Regions from separate parts of the Homo sapiens genome. Here regions 1 and 2 are each linked to region 3. Evidence: promoter capture Hi-C in human tissues and cell types (Jung and others, 2019). All regions are on one chromosome and are shown on one strand. Each heading gives the region's core, a stretch centred on a gene start or on the middle of the fragment in contact. The rest is flanking DNA. Distances are from core to core; before and after follow the strand shown. Region 1 has its middle 130 kb from the start of FKBP1C. Region 2 has its middle 80 kb from the start of FKBP1C. Region 3 holds the start of FKBP1C (FKBP prolyl isomerase family member 1C).

The links. The method cuts DNA at HindIII sites, captures the fragments that hold promoters and counts their contacts. A contact is called where the count stands out against the background at its distance.
Region 1: a fragment that was not itself captured here is called in contact with the fragment with the promoter of FKBP1C in region 3 in 2 of the 25 tissues and cell types used here (adrenal gland and thymus).
Region 2: a contact is called between a fragment that was not itself captured here and the fragment with the promoter of FKBP1C in region 3, in 7 of the 25 tissues and cell types used here (H1 embryonic stem cells, dorsolateral prefrontal cortex, lymphoblastoid cells and 4 more).

Annotation. Positions count from the first base shown.
Region 1 is chr6:63,083,144-63,086,702 of GRCh38, reverse strand. No RefSeq gene overlaps it. Among named protein-coding and RNA genes, the nearest start is that of FKBP1C, 130 kb to the left of the region's middle. RefSeq lists a silencer at 184-390. The HindIII fragment of the contact is 4,926 bases long and covers 1-3,559 here.
Region 2 is chr6:63,129,326-63,133,027 of GRCh38, reverse strand. No RefSeq gene overlaps it. Among named protein-coding and RNA genes, the nearest start is that of FKBP1C, 80 kb to the left of the region's middle. The HindIII fragment of the contact is 6,731 bases long and covers 1-3,702 here.
Region 3 is chr6:63,209,443-63,213,005 of GRCh38, reverse strand. It overlaps FKBP1C (FKBP prolyl isomerase family member 1C), which reads right to left and starts at 1,537. Exons shown (of 1, transcript NM_001395980.1): 1 at 1-1,537. The coding sequence starts at 1,449. The coding sequence ends at 1,123. The HindIII fragment of the contact is 10,095 bases long and covers 1-3,563 here.

The DNA.
Region 1 (3,559 bases), core at 173-2,672, 130 kb after region 3:
GGAGAACTTTTCTGTCTTACAAGAGGATTATAAAATGCACTAATCAGCACTCTGTAAAAATGCACCAATCAGTGCTCTGTGGCTAGAGGTTTGTAAAATAGACCAATCAGCACACTGTAAATTGGACGAATAAGTGCTCTGTAAAATGAACCAATCAGCAGGACATGGGCAGGGACAAATAAGGGAATAAAAGCTGGCCACCCCAGCCAGCAGTGGCAACCCTCTTGTCCCCTTCCACACTATGGAAGCTTTGTTCTTTAGCTCTTCACAATAAATCTTGCTGCTGCTCACTCTTCAGGTCCATGCCATCTTTAAGAGCTGTAACACTCACTGCAAAGGTCCATGGCTCCATTCTTGAAGTCAGTGAGACCACGAACCCACCAGAAGGAACCAACTCCAGACACATCTTGGGGGCTCATCTGGAATATTTCCAAGTGGTGAGTACAATTGGACCCATTTTGCTTGCTATTTTCTCCTATTTTTCCTCAGAATTTGGGGGCTAAACACCGGGCACCTATCAGCCGGCTAAAAATGACTAGCATGGCTGCAGGACTAAAGACATGGGTGTCAGGCTTTCTGGGAAAGAGCTCTCTAACTATTCCTGACTCTTCGGAGTTGGTAGCATTGGTTTGCCTGGAAACAGCTTAAACTTTTCCTGTACTTCTGGGCTGAACTGAGTGTCAACAGAAAGGAAAGCCATTCAGCTCCAGGGTCCTGATAAAATGTTGGTTGACCCTATAGCCATGAGCAGAGCTCTCAAAGTCAAGTCATCTAAGCAAGACTTGCCCATCTATCCTATCTAACTTGACCCTTGCCTCCTGGGTCCTAATGCTTTTCAGACAAATTTCCTCCTGCCTCTCTTTTCCGAGGCTAGTCCCGCTTCTAAAAACCACTCCCTGTCTCTGGTGCTTTTCTAGTTTCTCCTATAAGAATGATTTCTAGTATAAATTTTGGGACTCTATTCCTTTCTTTAGGCACCCAGGCTCACCAATCAGAAAGACTTAGTTTTTGCCCAAAGCCCCACTGGGAGTTGGGGGAGACTATCTGGAATTTTAGGATCCCTCCTCAGACTAGCAGGCCTAACAAAGGCTATTTCTGAAGCTAGGATATGGGGAGCCTCAGAAATGATATCCTTCCTATTCATGTGATGAGAAGTGAGGACAAAAGGTGTCACTCTTCCAAGGGAAGATCCCTTGGAATCCTGAAGGGATCCTGGAGATCCCTTCCCTCCCTTAGGGTGTGGCCCTCCACTCCATTTTTGGGGCATATCATCTTTATAGGACAGAGGTAAGGTCCCAATACTAACAGGAGAAAATGCTTGGGACTCTAATAGGTTTTTGAGAATGTGTTGGTAAGGACCACTAAATCTGATTTTTCTTGGTCCTCTTTGTGGTCTGAGAGGAAAGGCAAGGGTGCAGATTTTTGAGAATGTGTCGGTAAGGGCCACTAAATCCCACCTTCCTTGGTCCTCTTTGTGGTCTACGAGGAAAACCAGTGTTTCTGCTGCTGCTTCAGTGAGCACAACTATTCTGAATAGCAGGGTCCAGGGACCATTGTGGGTTCTAGGGCCAGTGAGGGGGAGACAAACAAACCAAAATGGTGGGCAGTTTTTTCTTTCAGATGGGAAACACTCAGGCATCAACAGGCTCACCCTTGAAATGCATCCTAAGCCATTGGGACCAATTTGACCCACAAACTCTGAAAAAGATATGGCTCATTTTTCTCTGCACTACGTCCTGGCCCCAATATTCTCTCTGATGTGAAAAAATGGTCGCCTGAGGGAAGTATAAATTACAATACTATCCTGCAGCTTAACCTTTTCTGTAAGTGGGAAGGCAAATGGAGTGAAATACCTCATGTCCAAGCTTTCTTTTATTGAAGGATAATCCACAACTATGCAAACTTGCAATTTACATCCCACAGGAGGAACTCTCAACTTACCTCCATATCCTAGCCTCCTTACAGATCCCCTTCCTATTAATGATAAGGCTCCTCTAGTCTCCCCACCCAGAAGGAAACAAGCAAATAAATCTCCAAGGGACCACAAAAACCCCTGGGCTATTGGTTATGTCCCCTTCAAGCTGTAGGGGGAGGGGAATTTGGCCCAACCCAGGTACATGTCCCCTTCTCCCTCTCTGATTTAAAGCAGATCAAGGCAGACCTGGGGAAGTTTTCAGATGATCCTGATAGGTACATAGATATCCTACAGGGTCTAGGGCAAACCTTTGACCTCATTTGGAGAGATGTCATGATATTGTTAGATCAAACCCTGGCCTTTAATGAAAAGAATGTGACTTTAGCTGCAGCCTGAGAGCTTGGAGATATTTGATATCTTAGTCAAGTAAATGATAGAATTACAGCCAAAGAAAGGGACAAATTCCCTACCAGTCAGCAAGCCATCTGCAGTATGAATCCCCACTGGGACCTAGACTCGGATCATGGGGACTAGAGTCATAAACATATGTTGACTTTTGTTCTAGAAGGACTAAGGAGAATTATGAAAAAGCCCATGAATTAGTCAATGATGTCCACCATAACTCAGGGAAAGGAAGAAAATCTTTCCGCCTTCCTTGAGCAGCTATGGGGGGCCCTAAGAAAATATACTCCCCTGACACCTGACTCCCTCAAAGGTCAATTGATCCTAAAAGGTAAGTTTATTACCCAGTCAGCCACAGATATCAGGAGAAAGCTCCAAAAGTGAGTCCTGGGCCATGAACAAAATCTGGAGGCATTATTAAACCTGGCAACCTCAGTGTTCTATAGTAGGGACCAAGAAGAATAGGCCAAAAAGAAAACAATATCAGAGAAAGGCTGCAGCCTTATTCATGGTCCTCAGACAAACAAACCTTGGTGGCTCAAAGAGGACAGAGAATGGAGCAGGCCAACCACCTGGTGGGGCTTGTTATCAGTGTGGTTTGCAATGACACTTTAAAAAAGATTGTCCAATGATAAGCAAGCTGACCCCTCATCCATGTCCACTATACCGAGGCAATCACTGGAAGGCACACTGCCCCAGAGGTCAAAGGTTCTCTGGGCCAGAAGCCCCAACCAGATGATCCAACAACAGAACTGAGGGTGCCTGGGGCAAGCACCAACTCATGTCCTCACCCTCACTGAGCCCTGGTACATTTAACCAATGAGGGCCAGGAAATTGACTTCTTCCTGGACACTGGCATGGCTTTCTCAGTGTTAGTCTCCTGTTCCTGACAGCTGTCCTGTAGGTCCATTACCATCCACGGAATCCTGGGACAGCCTGTAACCAGGTATTTCTCCCACCTCCTTAGTTGTAACTGGGAGACTTTGCTCTTTTCACATGCCTTTCTTGTTATGCTTGAAAGTCCCACACCCTTATTAGGGAGGGACATATTAGCCAAAGCTGGAGCTATTATCTGCATGAATATGGGGAACAAGTTACCCATTTGTTGTCTCCTGCTTGAGGAGGGAATCAACCCTGAAGTCTGGGCACTGGAAGGACAATTCAGAAGGGAAAAAAAGTGTCCACCCAGTCCAAATCAGAATAAAAGACCCCACCACTTTTCCTTATCAAAGGCAATATCCC
Region 2 (3,702 bases), core at 439-2,938, 80 kb after region 3:
CTTTTGTTAAAAACGTGTTTGTGAATACATACACTTGTACTAAGAAAATATCTTCATTTTATTTTTTTCTTTATCATATGACATAAGATTTATTGACTTCATATCAATACTTAAGTGTTGTTAACTTTATATAATAGTATTTCGGTTGGGGATTGATGCATTTCTGGTTGTACCAAGGATAGCTGCATTATGTTAGGCATAATTATAACCTTATTATTGTCTTTATTTGAAGACTATGTATGATCTCAGGAGATGTGTATGGGTTCAAGTTGACAAGGGGTGGACTTGTGATGGTTAATACTGAGTGTCAACTTGTTAGATTGAAGGGTACAAAGTATTGCTCCTGGGTGTGTCTGTGAGGGTGTTGCCAAAGGAGATTAACATTTGAGTCAGTGAGGTGGGAAAGGAAGACCCACCCTTAATCTGGGTGGGCACCATCTAATCAGCTGACAATGTGGTTAGAATATAAAAAGCAGGAAGAAAAAAGTGAAAGGTCTAGACTGGCCTAGCCTTCCAGCCTACATCTTTGTCCCATGCTGGATGCTTCCTGCCTTCGAACATCAGACTTTAAGTTCTTCAGTTCTAGGACTCGGATTGGCTCTACTTGTTTCTCAGCTTGCAGACTGCCTATTGTGGGACCTTGTGAACATGTGTGTTAATATTTAATAAACTCCCCCATATATATACACACATATATGTGTGTGTATATATACATATATATACACACACACACATTATACATATACTCTGTCTATATATAAAGTATATATATATATACTATTAGTACAATAGTATATTATATACATACACAAACACACATATAATACATATATTAGTTCTGTCCCTCTAGAGAACCCTGACTAAGGCACCTTATTTGAAAATAGGGCCTTTACAGAGGCAATCAAGTTAAATGAGGTTATCAAGTTAAAATGAAGTCATTAGAGTGGGGTCTCATTTAAAACAACTGGTTTCCCTAGGAAATTTGTACTCATAAATATAAACAGAAGGAAACCAACATGTGAAATAAAAGCAGAGAACAGAGTAATAAATCTTTAAGATATGGAATGCCAGAAACGATCAGAAAACTATCATAAGTTAGGAGAGAGACACAGAACAGATTTTCCCTCACAGTACTCAGAGGGAACCAACCCTGCTGACATATTTTAATCTTGAACTTCTATCCTCCACAACTGTGACACAATATATCTCTGTTGTTGAGGCCAACCAGTTTGTGACAGTTTGTTGTGGCAGCTCTAGCAAAAAAATACAGCATGTATTTATATATTTTATATAAACTAAGCTTGTTTTATGTGTTATTGTTTATTTCCCTTTAAATTAGAGAAAATTAATGCAGTGCTTTTTAAACTTTAGTGTGAAAAATTTATTTCATGGCCATATCAAAACAACTCAATTTGGCTGATTTCACTGAAAAAATAATGATTTAAGCCAATATAATGAATTTACTCTCCTATTGACATAATCTGTGAAAAAAAATTGATCATTTAAAAACAAACTACCTCATATTTTCCATAATTTTATTTTGTTATTTTTTGTCTCAAGACATAAAGTTGGAATAGATATTAAATTCTTTAATTGAAATGCACATGTATTGTGTGCTTTATTAAAGGTGTAAAACTGGGCATGCCCAAATGGCCATGAAGAAATTGGAAACAATCATGGTTATGTTTATCACACCATTAATATCATACTTTAATGCCACTATTAATGAAAACTGTAGTTTTATTTGGTAATATTTAGGGTTATGAGAAGAAGAAAGAGATGGTTGCTTAGATACGGCTAATTTGAAGTGATTATTTTAAAATTATATTAAAAAATGTAGATAATAGGAATTAATACCTTAGTTTTCTGAATGTAAAAACAGTTGTGTCTTAAGAATAGTTGACCTTCTAAACAAGTGTTTCTGCAGTTTTTCTCTCACAAACCATTAGCTTTAATAGTTGCTACTTTGAAAAATTATGAATCGTCATACCCTACTGGGTTGATTTTTTTTGGTAAGAACTAATTTTATAAATATATAACTTTGGCCTTATGTAAGATAAATGAACTTTATTGAAAATGTAATACCCATGGGAATATAACTCCATTAGCTTGGGAATTATACCCCCAGCCCCCACAGCAGCTGCAGCAAGCCCTGCCCAAGGAAAGTCTGGGCTCAGACATGCCTATCTCTGCTTCCACCTGGTATTCTTTCTCCACCCACCTTGTTTGCTGAAGACAAAGGACATCATTTCTTGGGAGGTCCGTGGCTCTTCCCACCACCTGAGAAATCTGAATACTTAACCAGTTGACCCTAGGGCAAGTTTGCATCCTCCTTATAGTACCACACCTGATGGGCTCTTGAAAGCACCACCTCCTGGCTAGTGACCAACCAACACAAAACCAGCATACTAAACAAAAAAATACAACCAAGGACCCTCACGGATTCCACTTTACTACCCAGCTGCCTCCACTGGAACAGGTGCTGGTATCCATGGCTGCAAGATTTGAAGACAGATCACATCACGGGACTCTTTGAAGATAATTTCCAGTACCAGCCTGGAGGCCGGTAGCTCTGCTGGGTGGCTAGAGGAGCAAAAACAATCACTGTAGTTTGGCCCTCAGGAAGCTCCATCCTTAGGGGAAGAGGGAGAACACATCAAGGGAGCACCCCATGGGACAAAAGAATTTGAACAGCAGCCCTTGAGTCCCAGCTCTTCCTTGTGACCTAGTCTACCCAAATGAGAAGAAACCAGAAAAGCAATTCTGGTAATATGACAAAACAAGGTTATTTAACACCCCCAAAAGATCACACCAGCAATGGATCTAAGCCAAGACAAAATCACTGAATTGACAGAAAAGGATTTCAGAAGGTTGATTATTATGCTAATCAAGGAGGCACAAGAGAAAGGGAAGTTCAACTTAAATAAATAAAAAACATGATATAGGATATAAAAGGAAAATTATTCAGTGAAATAGAGAGCATAAATAAAAAAATCACAATGTCTGGAAATCAAGGACACGGAGAAATGCAAAATGCACTGGAAATTCTCAGCAAAAGAATCAAACAAGCAGAAGAAAGAACTTCAGAACTCAAAGACAAGGCTTTTGAATTAACCCAATCCCTCAAACAAAATAAAAAATAATAAAAAAAATGAACAAAGCTTCCAAGAAATTTGGAACTATGTGAAACATCCTAACCTAAGAATAATTGGTGCTCCCAAGCAAGAAGATAAATCTGAAAGTTTGGATAACATATATAAGAGAATAATCAAGGAAAACTTCCCCATTCTTGCTAGAAATCTAGACATCCGAATACAAGAAGCTCAAAGAACACCTGGGAAATTCATCATAAGATCATCACCTAGGCACATAGTCATTAGGTTATCTAAAGTCAAGACAAAGGAAATAATCTTAAGAGCTGTGAGGCAAAAGCATCAGGAAACCTATAAAGAAAAACCTATCAGATTAACTGCAGATTTCTCAGCAGAAACCCTACCAGCTGGAAGGGATTGGGGCCCTATTTTTAGCCCCCTCAAGCAAAACAATTATCAGCTAAGGATTTTGTTTCCAGTGAAACGAAGACTCACAAATGAAGAAAAGATGCAGTCTTTTCCAGACAAACAAATGCTGAGAGAATTCGCCACTACCAAGCCAGCACTATAAGAACTGCTAAGAGGAGCTCTAGATTTTGAAATAAATTCT
Region 3 (3,563 bases), core at 288-2,787:
AAGCACTTTTATTGCAATAATAAAACTTGAGACTCATATATGGTGCTAGGGGAAGGGGGCAGCAACGATTCCTCTCACCAAATCACTACACAGGACAGCAAAGGGGTGAGAAGTGGCTGAGGGAGGAAAAGCCAGGAAACTCTGAGATCAGCAGAGGGAGCCAAGCATCAAAAAACAGGAGATGCTGAAGCTGGGATGACCAGCATCATTTTCTTAAGAGAACATTCAAGGATTTGTCATGATGGCTGGGCTTTCACTGGGTGTTAAGTCTACAAACAGCACCTTCAATTGAAACTGTCAATTAAAGTTCTTAAGATTTAGGAAGTGGTGGAGCTTGGAAAGTTATGAGATTACAAAATTCCTGAAAGTCCGTTAGAAAAACCACAGGATGAAAAAAAAAAAAAAAAAAATAAGGCCACAAAGAAGGCTTCAGAGGTCCCTGCTGGCCCAGGGACAGATACCTGTAGTGTCCAGCATCGCAGTGAACATGACCTGCTTTCAAAGGCAGAGGGTTTAAGGGGAGGGTGGGGTGGGAATGGTGGAGGCAAAGCCTCTCCCCATCCCCACCTCAGTTTTAGGTAGGGCTTTTAATTTAACCCAAGGACATCTCTCAACTTGGAGAATAATTCAGTCCTCAACAGTGCCTCAAATCTGCTATGGTTTTGCAGCGCAGCAGCAAGAATGTTTAATATATAATAGATAAAAATTTCATCCAAAAAATTAAAATAAAATATTCTTGCAACCCCCTCAACACCAATTCCTATCCTAACGTTAACTTATCACTTGTGCTGTTAACACTTGACCATGTACTTAATTGGAAACCTATATTCAAAAGACTGAAACTGAATCTTCACCCCAAAATGAAAAAGTAAAATGAATAACTTGACGTTTATGGCATATAGTTTAGGTAAACGCACATACCAGGAGAAAGGGGAAGAGGAAACAGAGGTGTCGGAAGCAAAGCTGAGTGACAGAACACATTCAGTTGGGGCAGATGTCTATACAAAGTGGAGTGGAACATCAGGAAAAGCTCCATATGGATTTATGTGCACACGTCTGGAGGCACCAGATCCCTCCATGGCAGATCCAAGAACAGGGAGCTAAGGGAGGAGGCCATTCCTGTCATTCCAGTTTTAGAAGCTCCACATCGAAGACGAGAGTGGCATGTGGTGGGATGATGCCTGGGTGCCCAGTGGCACCATAGGCATAATCTGGAGATATAGTCAGTTTGGCTCTCTGACCCACACTCATCTGGACAACCCCTTCTTCCCAGCCTCGGATCACCTCCTGCTTGCCTAGCATAAACTTAAAGGGCTTGTTTCTGTCCCGGGAGGAATCAAATTTCTTTCCATCTTCAAGCATCCCGGTGTAGTGCATCACGCAGGTCTGGCTGCGCTTCGGGAAGGTGCGCCAGTCTCCTGGGGAGATGGTTTCCACGTGCACTCCCATGGCGGCGGCCGACGCCGAGCGGGCGGGCAGCGCGACGGGCGGCGTGGACCGACAGCGACCTGGCGGCGGTTCCACGGCTCTGCCTAGTCCCTCAGCGCGTTGCCTGCCCATACTGTATTTTTAAAATCTACAAATTCTATATTAGTGCCTTCTGGGCAAGTGTGTTGAATGAGTCACTTAAAAATCTCTAAATAGGTTTTTTTTTTTTTTTCCCGTACTGGAAGTGTTACCATTTCCTTGTTAACTTTGTTAACTTTGTGTTTGGTCTCCCATTATCTGTGGCGGCTACGTTCCAAGATCCCCAGTGGGTGCCTGAAACCACAGAACCACAGATAGTACAGAACCCTATATATACTATATTTTTTCCTGTACATACATACCTATGATAAAATTTAATTTATAAATTAGGCACAGCAAGAGACTAAAAACAATGACTAATAATAAAATAGAACAGTTATAACAATATAAAAGCATCATTACTCTTGCACTTTGAGGCCATTATGAAGTAAAATAAGGGGTACATATTAAACACAAGCTCTGAGCTACCTTACAATTGATCTGATAACCAAGACAGCTACTGAGTGACTAACAGACAGGGAGGGTATACAGTGTGGAGATGGTGGACAATGGGATAATTCACGTCTCAGTCAGGTGAGAGTGGAACGGGATGGCTCGAGATTTCTTCACACTACTCAGAATGGTGTGCAATTTAAAACTTATGAATTGTTTATTTCTGAAGCTTTCAATTTAATATTTGCAGACCACTATTGACCATGGGTAACTGAAACTGCAGAAAGCAAAACTGTGGATAAGGGATACTATTGTATATATCTGGAGTTTGATTTAAAGGTCTAAAACAGATCTCTAAAACTTTTGCTCAAATGAATTAACTGTTGTCCATCTAAATAGTATGCTACGATTAGCGTAGCCACTATTGTCAGGTTTCTGCCAGAAGTATCAGTGTAGAGAGATATTTTAAAGAAAAAAGGAAGGATGTATATATTTGAAAGTTGTCCAGTACTTTGCATATAAACTCACAGTTATATTTTTCTTTCTGTGTGTTCTATTATGTTCATGTTAACTTAGAAAGAAATATGCTTTGAGTCTGGTTTACAAAGAACGATATAGATTCAGTAGTCTAAACTTAATGATTTACATACAGCTTTTTTAGTGATAGAAAACACTAGGTAAGTTAAGAAAGTTTAAGAGAAGCTGCTATTGTTCTTGAAAGCATGTATATTTAACTCTTTCTATGTGAAAAGAATGTTTTTGCATTCTTTGTTGCTGTAGATGTTATGTGTATATACCTTTTACTTTTGTAATTTTTAAAAAACAGTGGAATTATAAATTTCTTATCAACTTGTCTTTAGGTTAAATACATTTAGTGTAGCCTCTGCTTGCCATTAGGGCTAAGAACCTAACTACATTTGAAATAGAACCATAGTCGACTTACACTGCAAAAATTTTTTATTAGAATTCTTCTGATAATACTTCACACATTTCATAGCCATCTATATGCTAATATTTCCAACAAATTATCAGATGCTATTTCTACATAACCCTTTTCTCAACAAATGACCTGTCATGTTCATAATGGCCTCATTTTTTGGTGGCAGTTTTAATTTTATCTAGCAAAAAATTGAAAGCTCACAAAGAAACTAATTATATAGTTTCACAGTTAATAATATGGTTTCTAGTTTTAAGACTTGTAATGTGCAAATTTATCTAGTTAAGTTTTCTAAGAGTCGAGGCTGCTGTTTCTTCTTTTAAAATCATTTACAAACCCTTTTTGAAGGAAAGTAGAAATTTTCATACTGTGGTCTTACAAGGATTGAGTGCTGATTTTACATTGTAGTTATTGATTATTTTGTAAGCATAAACTCATGTACATCACATTTCCATTACACACACAATGTCTCGTTAAGTTTCCTTCTTTGAAGAATTAACTGCTCTCCAAAATGTAATCAGAAGGAAGGCATATCAACTGGGAATTTATTTGGGTTATTTACCAATAACGCCAATAGTACTTATTACCTGAAAACTTGGGATTTTGAACAATATGATTCTTAAGGTATGTTGTTTTTCTGACAGAAAATTCAAGATGTGGAGAGTTA